3 separate regions of the Homo sapiens genome follow, and regions 1 and 2 are each linked to region 3. Evidence: promoter capture Hi-C in 16 types of primary human blood cells and fetal thymus (Javierre and others, 2016). All regions are on one chromosome and are shown on one strand. The core of a region is centred on a gene start or on the middle of the fragment in contact, and the rest is flanking DNA. Distances in the headings are between cores, read along the strand shown.

What was found. The method cuts DNA at HindIII sites, captures the fragments that hold promoters and counts their contacts. A CHiCAGO score of 5 or more calls a contact.
Region 1: a contact is called between the fragment with the promoter of C10orf71-AS1 here and a fragment that was not itself captured in region 3, in 1 of 17 cell types (megakaryocytes). The highest score is 7.1, in megakaryocytes.
Region 2: the fragment with the promoter of TMEM273 here is called in contact with a fragment that was not itself captured in region 3 in 2 of 17 cell types (fetal thymus and monocytes); the score reaches 7.0 in fetal thymus.

What each region holds. Positions count from the first base shown.
Region 1 is chr10:49,296,796-49,301,257 of GRCh38, forward strand. C10orf71-AS1 (C10orf71 antisense RNA 1) reads right to left here and starts at 2,098. Exons shown (of 2, transcript NR_108038.1): 1 at 1,895-2,098. It overlaps C10orf71 (chromosome 10 open reading frame 71), which reads left to right and starts at 2,375. Exons shown (of 3, transcript NM_001135196.2): 1 at 2,375-2,438. RefSeq lists a silencer at 251-428. The HindIII fragment of the contact is 569 bases long and covers 1,873-2,441 here.
Region 2 is chr10:49,186,449-49,191,210 of GRCh38, forward strand. It overlaps TMEM273 (transmembrane protein 273), which reads right to left and starts at 1,943. Exons shown (of 7, transcript NM_001288740.3): 1 at 1,846-1,943. The coding sequence starts at 1,888. RefSeq lists enhancers at 3,772-3,931, 4,392-4,611. The HindIII fragment of the contact is 10,255 bases long and covers 1,544-4,762 here.
Region 3 is chr10:48,661,845-48,666,210 of GRCh38, forward strand. No RefSeq gene overlaps it. Among named protein-coding and RNA genes, the nearest start is that of WDFY4, 21 kb to the right of the region's middle. The HindIII fragment of the contact is 206 bases long and covers 2,936-3,141 here.

The sequences.
Region 1 (4,462 bases), core at 848-3,347, 630 kb after region 3:
TACACAGGGCAGGTGGGGGAACATCCAGGAGAAATTAGATTCTGCAGGTGTCAGCTATGCTCAGGCTTGCTGGTTGGAGCCTCCAGCCAAGCTCTGAGGGCTGCCTGCTCCTAGGACAGGCTCTTGCTGGGTCAACTGTGTTTTATTATTCTCTCCCTACCCCTCCTGCTGATGTCATTGACAAAGCTACCCGCCAGTGCCCGGCCCCCGGAACATTCCCCAGCCATCCCACGGTGCTCTTTCCTCAATCAGCCACTTCAAGCAAACACCATTCGCTCCTGCTGCAGAGCAAAGCTTGCTGTTTCTAGGATCCTAAACAAGACATGAGGTCATGCTCTCCACCTGTGAAGAATGAAACGTAAGCTGGGGAAGGAAGGTGCTGAGGAGGGGAGGAAAGCAAATTAGGAAGACCAGCGGCCCTGCCGAAGCTTTCAGCTCATGTTACTCACACCCCAAAGCAAACTCCTCCATAAAATGAGGTTTAGTAATGCAACATTTTCTAACATCTGGAACAAAATGATTTGGGTCAAACAGATGACATATGAACTGACTGTAAATTTGTTTCAATGTGTACTGGGAGGGAGGGAAATTAACAAATATGTCAAATCCATGATCTATTAAGTATTGTTGTTTTCCATAAAGTTCTTCTGTTCAAGAAAAAAAGCAAGTCAATTTAAATTTTCTTTAAAGGAAAATAGTAAGTAAATGTTGATACAGATGGTTGAGGTGTAGCAAAAATCATGGGAAAAAATAACAAATAAATGACTAACATTTTGGGAAGCTTTGCAATAGACGAGCATATTCATGTACATGAGCTCCCCTGACCCTGAATCCCACAGAGCACAGGCATTCTCTCCACTTTAGAGATGGGTAAACTGAGGCTCAGGAAGGGTAAGTATGTGACATGTCAACTGACCAGGAAATAATGGAGCCAGGGCTCAAAATCCTGTGTACTTTTTAAATGTTGGCTCCCATCTCAAGTTGATGGCTTTTGTCTGACCTTTTGGCATGCGTTTGTTTTGGCAAATGGGGAGGTAGGGAGGTGGGTGGGTAAAATTGAGGGGTTCACTTTGGGCCTCCCTCAAAGCATCTCTGAGTGCGGAGCAGCAAGTAATCATCCCCACAGCGAGGTTCTGAAGCTCTCAGGGCAAAAGGCAAGTCTTGAGGCTCCCAGGAGGAGGCGGGTCTGAATGCTCCTGCTGGTTGGAATCTCACACCTTAGTCTGCAGGGCAAGGAGGAGCTGTTCTTTGTGACTTGGTTTAGACAAAAGTACATAGACCTGGGTCCCTGTGGCCCTGGCTGTCAGCCGGTTCAAGGCTGGAGGTGGTGCCAGGCCCCAGCTTGGGGCTGGGACACAGGTTGCTGCCCTTGAAGAGCCCACAGGGGCAGAAGGGACAGTCTACAAATAGACCCAAAGACACAGCACACTGCAAACTTGCAGAGGCTTTGAGCGCTGCACAGAGCAGGACACCCAGCGGGGGCCAGTCATCTCCGCTTTCTCAGGCCACAGTCAGGGAAGCATAAAAAAGAACCTTGGAGAGAAAGGGGGAAAAAAACCCACTCTTGCATTAAATCCTGGTAGCAAGCAGACTATCCTAGGGCCAGCTTGGGAGAGTAAGGAAGGCACTCTGGGAGCTGGCATGGCACAAGCCAAGGAAAAGCCAGTGGAAAAAGTTGGGGGATCTGTGGGCAGTTTGGGGAGCAGGTGACCCCAGCCTGAGACAGAAAGCAGCCATTGGGAAGGCAGGCATGAGCCCACCTCAGGGTTGAAGGGAGGCCAGCCCTTCCCAGAGGTGGAGAGGGGAGCCTGGCAGAACGGGACTTGTCCACTGGTGCTTGGACTTTGCAAACAACCGGGCTTGCTGTAGCCAAGCTTACCAAGTGGACACTTACCTTGCCTCTTCCCCGATTATTTCATATCCTTCTGTAACTCTCACCCTGAGACCCAGCCTGGCCTTCCCCTAGCTGCAGATTATTCTGCTCCAAAAGCACAGCAGAGGACGGCTCCTTACTCGAGGAATGCGGGCGGCGGTCGTCCAGAGCCGATGATGAAACGGGCTATTTCTGCCCCGGGACATCAGCAGGGCTCTGGGCTCTGGCTCCAAGGCACACACTCTCCTGTTTTTAATGTTTCCCTAAACAAATGTTTTCCTTCCCACCTCGGGATATTTTTATTTGACTCTAGGTGCTGGAATAGCTTTAGCAATCATTCTGGATTGAAGTTGGAATCGTGGTTAGGGTCCGGCTAAGCGGCAAGCAATTTCTCACTCCCCAAGTGATCTGTTACTCGTGGCTGATTTGGAAGTAAAAATAGCAGCTGAGGCTGTTTGTTTAATCTGACTGTTACTTGACACCACGCGGGTGTTGCAGTGCGGACTGTTTGCCTCTTCCCCACCAAGAACACCATTTGGTTTCCCCCGGCTGGGTCTCTATTTAGGTAAGCTTCGCGGACTTCCCGTGTCTGGCCGGCTTCTGGTCACTGATCTTCCTCAGGTGGGTAGGTTTGTGAGCTAGAGGAGGCTTGGGTCCTGAATCCACTCTCCTATCACCTTTGGGCAGCCTGGATAAAGAGGAAAGAAGTCTTGGCTGCTGGGCAGAGCCGGGTTTCTCTCCCATTCCCGAGGAGGCCTGAGCAGCTGGACACGCAGAGAGCGGAAGGTACAGCCCAGACACTTGTCTGGCTCCTTAGCGTGGGCAGGGAGGCTCAAGTTCATGGCGGGAGGGATGTTCCCGCTGGGCCGATGCTGTGCTGGGGAAGTAGTTCGGTGCCAGGGTGCTGTGCAGGGTGGTATGTGTGTGCCGGGAGCCCATTGGTGTTGGGGCTAAGGTTCTTGGTGTGCTGGATGGGCCTCGGGGACCACGTACCCGGAACCGTGTACATGTGTGACTTTGTCCTTAGGTGTCATCTGTCAGGGATCTCTGCTCCCACATGGCTGAGTGCACAGATGTGCCCAGGCCACTGCGCTGTCAAATGGGTGACCCCATGGTCCCAGGTTTTCAGCATTCAGGGCTGAGGGAGGCTGGCTTTCTTAGCTCCCCCAGCGCTGGGCCAGGCAGGGTCACACCAGCTGTAACAAAGAGAAAAACTGGTGACTGAGACGTTCTGGCCTGTGGGCTCTGCGAGCATGTGTGTCCCCAAAACAAAGCCCGCCACAGGCTGCCTGTTCTTACACACCCTGGGAGGGCCCCCACCAGACTCCCACAGGGTATGCTTGACTGAGTCTAAAATTACCTCTTTTATTTTCTGGTGGAGAAGAATTGAACATTGAGAACGGCAGTGGTCAATGTGTGTGGAAAGCTAGATAGCCTTAAGAAAAATCATTGTGTAGGCCTTTCAGGTAGCTCCCTAAGTATAGGAACCTGGGAAGCAGATTAAACAGATGTGTGTAGTAAATGAGGTCCTGTTTTCCAGCATTTGAGTTCCCTTTGCAGTAGTGGCTGGTAACTCTGGTCTGTGGTCTGAGCATCTGGTTTTGTAAATAAAGTTGTATTGGCACACAGCCACCTTCATTCATTTGCATATTGTCTAAAGCTGCTTCTACACTATATCAGCAGAAACCATATGGCCTGCAAAACTGAAAACGCTTACAATGTGGCCCTTTACAGAAAAAGTTTGCTGACCACTGTGTTACAAGAACACATCTTGAGATGGGTCAATTTAATACAAAAAAAAAAAAAAAAAAAGCAGTGAAAGTTCTTGCTGTTAGAATAGTTTGTAAGCCAGACCCTTCAGGACCAGTGGCTGGCTGGCTCCTGAGCCTCCTGCACCTTCCAGGGCCCACTTTTTAGGCCTGGCTGATACAGGAAATGTCCAGTTTGCTGTCACGGTGCTGGGAGGGTTAGCTTAGCAGTAGAATCACCAGACACACAGCGTGTCCATGTGGCCTGGGCTGAGCAGGGCAGATTGTGCTTATCGGGGTGATTTATAAATAGCCTTCCCCGGGTGACCCAAGTCCAACACACATCTGCCCCTGGGTCTCTGGGAACAAGTTTGTCTGCTCTTGGATGACCAGAAGCTCACTGGGAAGGGAACAACTGTGTGCGGTGGGTAAGAAGGGGGCTGGTAGAATGCTGTGTCCTGGAGCAGAGGGGCTTAGGTCTCCTGGAACCTGGGGAGAGAAAGCTGTTGAGAGTAGACAGGAAGGCCAGAGATGGCCTTGCATCCTCCCACCTTGATTTCTTTTTGCCAGGACAGAAGTAAGTGTCTTTGTCTTTTCCTGACCCTAAGGAAGCCCTGGAGACCCTTACTGAAGAGGGGAGGCCTCATGTCTTGAAATAGCCCTATTCCTCCAGTCTCTGCCAGAAATCTCAAGAACCCAAGCCTGCTGGTGGCACCAGAACTGGGCCGTCTTCCTCATTGGCTCTTGGGATTTTACTCCATATGCCCTGGGTTACTGGAGGGAAGCAAAGGGCTTTGAGAGAAGGCCACGCTACAGGGGCACACAGGGCTGCTGCTCCCCA
Region 2 (4,762 bases), core at 693-3,192, 520 kb after region 3:
TTACATTTCGCTTACATTGACACCCAGATTTTGCCAAATTGCCCTCTGGAGAGAGTGAATAAATGAGTCCCCTCATATCCAATAGTGAGTGCTCACCACTTATCACATCCCATGCTAAGTGCTTTAAATGTGGTAACAGATTTCATTTTCCCAATAGTCCTGTGAGGTGTCCCCAACTTACAGATGAGAAAACTGGGCACAGAGAGGATTAATTCTTTGTCCAAGTTTTCCAGGCTGGTAAACAACAGAACAGGGATGAACATTTAAGGAGTCTCGTACTGGATACCCACTCCTAACCACTGTGTACCTCTATCAATAGTATATGAAAGCAGAAACGAGCTGTGATGCCTTGGCCCAGTGATTAAAACCTTATCTATAACATGCAGGTAATTGTGGCACCTATTGCACAGAGTTGCTGTGGGAACCAAATGAGCTCATGTAACATCTTCAGCAGAGCACCCAGCACATCGACACACTAAAAAATGCGAGGAGGTGTTAGATCTTTTATTATTTGTGAGACTGGACATTTTAAAGTTTTATTGTCTGTGATTCTTCAATGAATTGCCTGTTTATATAATTTGCACATTTTTCATTGGATTTCTTAAATTTAACTTCCTTTTTTTGTACCAGGACAGACTAGTTTGTTTATCTAGGTAAGTCAAAAGCAGAAATAAGGGTTACAACTTCTCTTACCTTCCACCACGTCTCTGGGCAGGCACACTGCATCTAACCACCGTGCACACCCTTAATCGCTGCTTGCTGGTGCCTGACATCCCTTCACAGTCACTGCCAACGGCCCGTTTCCATGTGTAAACTGATGGATGATGTGGCTGGCTGTCTGTCTGACATGCTGACTCCCAAGGCCAAAGTCTTTGCTCTCCCCTGCTTAGTGCAGACTTTAGATGGAAACCTGCCCACAGCACTAACTTTGCCCGCATTCAGGATACAACCTATTGGTCTGGAGACACAAGATTTAATCTGGAGACAGACTGCTTCCCATTGAGTCTCGGCCCAGTGCAAGTTCTGGGAAGGAACGTCTTTGTATATATGAGGGACGTATGCTGCCTTTTTAGGAAACAACAGTTGATATCAGAGGGGACTTCGTAAAGGCATGTGTCTCTCTCCATCTCTGTCTCCATCTATGCATATTTCTAACCATCTCTCTATGTCTCTGTCTGTCTCTCTCTCTCTCTCTTTGAGTTTCTTCCTCTCTGTCTACTTCTCTGACTTTATATTTCTCTCCTCCATTTGGCCCTACTTTGTTTTAGTCTTTGCCTCTCTCCTTTCTTCCTTCTTTCAAGGAATGCATTAAAGATAATTTTTAAAAACAAAGATACCTCTGAGTAGCAAAGAGTCTGCTTCACTGCATGAGAATTCTGATTCAACATTAAATGTATACCAGTATCTACATGCCTACATGTTCTCATTCTATGTCAGTATTTTGATTTGACTTAATTAAATTTAACTTAACTCTCTTGAAATCCCAAAAAGTAAACATGATTATCTCCCATCTCATTGGTTCAGAAAGTTAGGGAGTTTCAGAAGCTTATTCTAGTTTATCAGCAATGGAGCCACAGTTTACACCCAGATGTTTCTAGATCCCAAGCCCGAAGCTCCTTCTGCCATGACCCTTCCTATTCTCCTTTAGCCCAGAAGCATTTGTAAGTTGCAGCTGGAATGAGACAAACAAGATCATTGCTCACTACCAGATCAAAGTGAGAAACATCATCTGTGTAAAGGGACAGAGTTATGTTTTAGGGATCAAGCCCCAGTGGGCTAAGGCTCCCCCAGTTTCCTGCCCACTGAGGCTCCCCCGGGCCAGAGACCCCCGCAGTCCCCACTTACCCAGGAGGAAGAGGATCCTCAGCATGCTGACCCCCAAGTTCATGCTGGCGCTCTGCTCTTGGCTCCTGGCTCCTGGCTGCTGGCAGCGCAGGCACAATGAGCCATGTGACCCAAGGCTCTGGGGACAGGACAAGACCCACGTGACTGATGGGGAAGGAAACCACTGTCACAGCCAGGAGGCTGTTCAGTTCCTCTCAGCCTCTCTGAAGACAGGGCTGAAGGAAGCCCCTGTCATTCTGGACTCCACCAGAAGCTGGCTGTGATTAGACCCATTGTACATGCTGGGGTATTATACCCAGTGTTCTCTCCTATAATCTTCCCCACAGAGTGTGGGAACAAAGCTCGGTAAGGTGCGGTTTCTTGCCTAATGACCCATGCTAGTAAGTCTCAGAGAGGAATGTGGGCAAAGCCGGTCTGCCCTGCAGTCCAGCCCTTGCAGTAGCCTCTGCCTTGGAGCAGAAATAGGAAATGCCCCTCCAGCCAATAGTCCAGCTCGGTCACTGTTTTTGTGCCATGGGAGCCTCTGAGTCTAGGAATGCCTATCACTCTCTTCTCAGAATAAGATTTTTAAATCCCCAAACTAAAATAGATAAGGATCATAGTAGAAATCAGTAGTATTAACACACAGTTATCAAAATATTTTGTTAAACTTGTGAAGTAGAAATATACATGCTTATTTATCCACACAGTAAATAGCAAGATCTGGCAGCAGATGAAACAGCTACCACCATCTCGACATGGTGATAAATGGAATCGATATTGAGAGATACCTGTAACAGCTGGAATGTGGATGGAAAGACCTGTGATTCCTACCAGAAATAAAGTTACTGGGTGGTAATGTTTCTGTGGTTCGTTTGCCACACTACTATTAGAAGAAGATGCTAAGTGTTCCTTAGAGGTTAGAGAACAGAGATGTAATTTTTTTCCCATCCAAGTTTACAGGCCCCATGTCCAGGTCCTTAGCCTGGAGGAACTTTGGTAGTCACACAGGCTCAGCCAGCAGGCTGAAGGCCTTATGCTCCTGTACTCCTTTATACCTGCACGTTGTCACAATGCTTAGATGTTCAGCCAAAAACCCAAATGTGCAGGAAATGTCACTTTTTAAAATATAAATCAACTTAATGACAAGTCTTGAGTCCCCCACCCAACTGAGCTGGCAGAAATCGAGCTCTTTTCATTCTTGGGCTCCCTCAGTCAAATCCCTAACGGTAGCAGCCAACACCGTGAGCACTTGCTACTGAGCCCAATGCCATCTTAGCATGCAACCTGTCCAAGTCCACGCAGCAGTAAATGTGAGAGCTGGACTCGAAACCCAGGCCTTTGGCTGGCAGCCTATGCCCCTCAGGCTGCATGTGCCCTCTGTGTACAGGTACCATCCCCTGCCAAGGTCCAGCCAGAGGCAGTCCGATTGCCCTGGTGCCACAGATGCCCCCTGGGTTCTTCTGCATGGCTGCTGTGGCTCCTTCTGAGTTTCACATAAATAATGGACATGAGAGGAGAAGGCTGGTCATGAGAGAAGCAATTGGCTTCATCTGGGTGCCTTCAAGTTCCATCTGTCCACACTTTATTCATTTGATGAAATTAAGATCAGTTTCTACCTGCACCAAGAAACATACTCTCTTATTTCTCCTGGAATATGTGGAGTTTTCTTAATTTTGCCCCAGTTCATGGGAACATGTGTAAGAAAAATATTTCACTTTCCTCTAAGTGTATTGAAAGAAAATGCCAGTGCAGACCTGACAATCTGTAGACAGTGGCTGGGGACGGTGGAGCTACATTCAGGCCAGGCCCAGGGCTTCCAGCCACACCAGGCAGTTCTGTTTTTATATGAAATCAATAAGTTTCAAATGTCGGCAACTGATTTCAAAATACTTTCGCATGGGATGAGTCAACCTAAACACCAGCATGAACTTCTGCTCCCAAACACCTCTCCAAACATCCTTGGGAGCTCGACCTGTCCTACATACTCCCAGGAGGGGAAGCATCTGCAGCTACTTCTGCTTTCACTCTGCCGTAGCCTCCGAGTCTGGAAAATGCAGTCTGCTCCCTGCTTAGACAGGCAGAGGCTCAAAACGCCCCGTAAACTAGAATCTCACGAGATGCCCTGGCACCCAGCCACGGCACCTTGGCAAGATGGTGTGTGTCTTGTTGGCGTGGCACAATGCACCCAGAAGAGCGGATGCCCCACCCTGTACCCCTGTAATGAACGCCCAGTTCTGACCGTGAGGCTGCTCCTGGCACTGGCTCACACTGGCCCAGGAGCTTGTGAGGGCAGGGCCCAGGGCACCTGGCCTAGCACCTGACACAGTGCAGGCTCCTAGCGGTGTTTGTTGAATGAAGAATTCAATTCACCCCATCTATTTGGGAGGCTGAGGCAGGAGAATCGCCTGAACCCGGGAGGCAGAGGTTGCAGTGAGCCGAGATTGCGCCACTGCACTCCAGCCTGGGCGACAAGAGTGAAACTCTGTCTCAAAAAAAAAAAAAAAAAAGAAGTCGTTTCACTTTCTTATCTCATGCTCAGCCGGCCTAGCCTCCAGCCCACCTGGCAGGAATATTTTCCAGGTCATCTAGGTGAGGAAGGTCACTGCACTGACAAGCAGAAAAGAATGAGCCCCACTCCGGCAGCTCTGACATCCTGCCCCTCACTCGGATGTGGGGCCTCTTCCAAGGCCACCAAGCCTGGGACTCTTCTGTCCTTAGCACTGCACCCTCAGGACCAGCCAGGGAGCTCGTAGAATTCATGTCTCATGTGAACGCCTTTAGTGCAAGTCACAAAAAACTGCCAAACACCATCATTACGCATCAGATTTTTACAAATTTAAAGATAGGGAGGATTCAGCACGCAGATTTGTTTATTGGCCTTACATAGAACTGTGCACCCAACAATTAGAAAATAGCCATTCAATTCAGCATGCAT
Region 3 (4,366 bases), core at 1,789-4,288:
CACTCAACTCCTTTCTTGCCCCAGGGCTTTTGTACCTGCTTCCCACTTCTTGAAATGCTCCCCACTTCTTGAAATGCTCCCCCACACTTCTTCAGTAAACACTTCTTCTTTTTTTTTTTTTTCTTTTTCTAGACGGAGTCTCACTCTGTTCCCCAGGCTGGAGTGCAGGGGCGTGATTTCCGCTCACTGCAAGCTCTGCCTCCTGGGTTCACGCCATTCTCCTGCCTCAGCCTCCCAAGTAGCTGGGACTACAGGCGCCCACCACCACGCCCGGCTAATTTTTTGTATTTTTAGTAGAGACGGAGTTTCACTGTGTTATCCAGGATGGTCTCGATCTCCTGACCTCGAGATCCGCCCGCCTTGGCCTCCCAAAATGCTGGGATTACAGGTGTGAGCCACCGCGCCCGGTCCAGTAAACACTTCTTAGTTTGTTGAATGAACAAATACATACTAACCTGTTAGCACAGGGATTTTTATCCTTATTTCATAGCTGAGGACTGCAAGGCCCAGAGGGGCTGACTGTAATTTTTCAAGACATTTTTGGTTAAAAAAAAAAAAAACCTAATGGTTTTAGCAAAACCCTTGAGATGACCTCTGAATGGACCATCATGGATCATGTGCACAGACCTGAACCCATCGTTGCAGCTGGGGCAGGGAACAGTCTCATATGGTGGGCCTTGGTCATGCATCCATCCCACTGCTGAGGGTGGAATCAGTTCCAACCAACACACATGGTGTGAGGATGAGTGAGGGGAGGCTTCTAAAGCAGCTTTATTTGTAATAGCCTCAAACTGGAAACAGTCAAGATGGTTAAACAGGTGAATGGTTAAACACCCTGTGCACAGCCATGCCATGGATTCTATCTAGCAATGAAAAGGAAAGGACTATGAATGCTTGCAGCCACTTGGGTGGATCTCAAGGACATTACGTTTAGCGAAAAAAGCCAGTCCCAAAAGGACATAGGCTGCATTATTTCATGTATATAACATTCTCTAAATGAGTTGGAGAGCAGATGAGAGGTGGCCAGGGGTTAGGGACAAATGGGGCAGAAGGCAGGTGTGACTACAAGGGACAGCATGAGGGATAGCTTACAGCCACAGGATAGTTCTGCACCCTGGTGGTTACATAAATCTGCATGTAATACAACTGGAGTGATAGACATTGCATCAATGCCAGTTCCCTGGTTTTGATATTGTACTAAGTTATGTAAGATAGAATCACTGAGAGACACTGAGTCAAGGGGATCTGGGACCTCTTTGATTATTTTTGCAACTTCCTGTGAATCTGCAAAAGAGTAGGTACTCACTAGTGGCAACAATATACATTACCAGTCTAACATGTGTACACATAGATAGGTCTTGTTAGGATGTTGAAACTGTGCCAATGCATGTTATTATTACTACAGTTTTAAAGATTTCTCTAAAAAATCAAAAAGCAAAATGTATATGATAATTAAAGAATACAAAAAATTAAAAAACATTATTTGATAAAATTAAATTCTTATTGTGATTTTAAAAATAAAAAATAAATCTAAAAATTAAACTGTTAGCATTTCTGGTGTTTGTTTTGCATCTAGTGGGTGCTATGAAGAATCTATGTCATACTTCACGCAAGTGACATTATACATCCAGAACAACACATATGCATCTAAGAGGGAGTGAGCTGTTTAATAGCATGAAATATTTCCAGGCTGCAATGAAGAACCATTGTGAATTTTGCAATGATATATAAGTACCTATGAAACTATGAATTTGAACTCAAAGAGCAGAAAAAAAAATACATGTCTGGCACTATTCAGAGATGAGATTTCTTATGGAGAACCTACTACATTTAGGTGATCTGAGAGGAAGCCTCTGGAAGTTTAGATTTTTTTCCTATTGCTTCCACGTTCAATTCCTCCTAGACATGGAAGCAATGTTCCTGCTGGCAATGGCACAACCCATAAACCTAAGCTGATCCTGCAAGCCAAATCCATAACATTTGGATCCAATCACATTTTCTTTTGAGGACATACATAGGGCAAGAGATGAGGTGCTGGACAATGCCAGTCCAGTGAGCAGGTGTGCAGGGTCAGGGCCATGGGTCATGCAGGGCAGCACTGGGCACACCTCTCGAGGAACAGAGGTGCCCATTCCATACATCCATGAATAGATGTGTGCTGTTTGGGTTCTCATGGGCCCTCAAAGTGTAGAGTCCAAGATAGGGCCCTCCTTGGTTTCCTGGACAGGTAGCATCTTAGTTCTTATGTGGGTATGAAGTCACTGCTGACTCCATGGCCATGTGTCACCAGGTTTACACCTTACCCTCCAGCAGGCTGAGCTGTCAGAGCATATGGAGGCTGCCTTGCTCACCTTGGTCTTTCCACTCAGGAATAGCACACAGATGCTGGGGCTCAGAAGCTTTTGGGGAAATGAGCTGCACAGGATTCTCTGTGGGTCCACTGGGAGCCCAGCTCTGTGGTCTCTCCCTGTGAAGTAGAGCACAACCTCGCTGCAGGGAGACTTCTGGGTTTGCTGCTCCTGGGCCAGGGATCTGCTACTGCAGTTATGCCTTGGACTCCGTGCCACTCTGAAATGCAAGGGCAAAGACTTCAACCAATGCTGCTTCCAGACCAGCTTATCCTAGTGTTACTTTTGGAAAATGCTTTCTTCTTGTTTTTTAAAAAATTTATCAAGCATTAGTTTCTTTAGAGATGGCCCTCCAAATCCCTTCCCTGTCAGTGTGCTCATGCCCTTCCTCCTGCCAAGAGGTGGAAATGATGCTACAGTAGTTCTGCATGTAGACCCTAAGAAGCCTGGAAGCTTCACTGTCTTTCTCTCTGGAAGCCAAGCTGTCATATTTTATAAGATTTGCACTGTCTAACGAATGATGAGAGGGCATGGAGGGAAAGAGAGTCTGCAAAGGAAGAGCACTGAGGCACCAGTCTTGTGAATAAAGCTTCCCTTGGATATTCGAGCTCCCAGCCCCCTAGTGAATGCAGCCAGGTGGCTCTCAGTCCATGCTGTGTGGAGCAGAAGAACCCCCCAGCCAAGCCCTGCCTGCTTCCTGTCCCACAGAATTGTGAGAAATAATAAGTAGTTGTTATTTCAAACCACCATATTTTGTTATGTAGCAGCAGATATCTGAAACACTCCTCAATAAAGCTTGGGAAAACTTGACTGTTAAATGTTTGATTGAGCACCTACTATTTCTTAGGTCTGTACTAGGGGCTATGGCTATGGAGATAAACAAGAAAAATTCCCTGACTCAAGAGCTCACTAATCAAAATGGCAAGGAGGAAATTATAACAGAGCAATTTGCAGAATGGATGAGCAATAGGAAAAGTGTAGGGGACTGTAGAGGACTAGGAGGGAGGGAGAATCCTATCCCACAAAGGCAGGATCAAGGACTGAAATCTCCCCCAGTGCCACCACCCAGCAACAACTACTGGGGGCAGTTTTTTTTTTTTTTTCAGTTGCAAGATTTAATAGAGTGAAATAGAGTGAAAACAGAGCTCCCATACAAAGGGAAGGGACCCAAAGGCGGTTGCCGTTGCTGGCTCGAATGCCTGGGTTTATATTGCAATCCTTGTCCCTCCCACTGTGCTCTCAGGCAATAGATGATTGGCTATTTCTTTACCTCCTGTTTTTGCCTAATTAGCATTTTAGTGAGCTCTCTGATTGGTTGGGTGTGAGCTAAGTTGCAAGCCCCGTGTTTAAAGGTGGATGCGGTCACCTTCCCAGCTAGGTTTAGGGATTCTTAATCGGCCTAGGAAATCCAGCTAGTCCTGTCTCTCAGTCCCCTCTCTCAACAGGAAAACCCAAGTGCTGTTGGTGAGGTTGGCTGATGACCACTCTAACTGCTTCCTGCTGAACTGGGGCATAGTAGGGGTTGTGCAGTTGAGATTTCCTCAGGAGGAGTGACTTCGATGTCATTAACACCAGAGCATGGGCTAGCAGGCCAGTCTAGGGGTCCGCGGGAGATCTTAGACATGGACTGCATCTGGGGTTCCATTTGAAGAACGATTTGTAGTTTTACAGTTTTAATTCTGGAAGACACAAACTTAACAAGGCGGTTAAAGATACAGGGATTGAAATGTATGGCCTGCAGTGCAGGGGATTACTTCTTTGGCACACTTCACAGGCCCTGACTATCTGCTTGATAGTTTTGAAAAGGCCTGGTTCAGTAAATAATAATTTGGCCATCTGATGGGTGCTATCGATGCCTAAGTGGAAGGTTTGGTGAAGGCTTTTAAGTAATTTTATTGGTTAGCTCCAGGCAAAAGTATTTTTCCTTCTTCAGTGGCTAGCCATCTGGAGGGGAGGAAAGTATGTCCTTGTGAGGTTCCTTATTCTATTTTTCCTGCTGAATACTGGGGCTTGGTTTC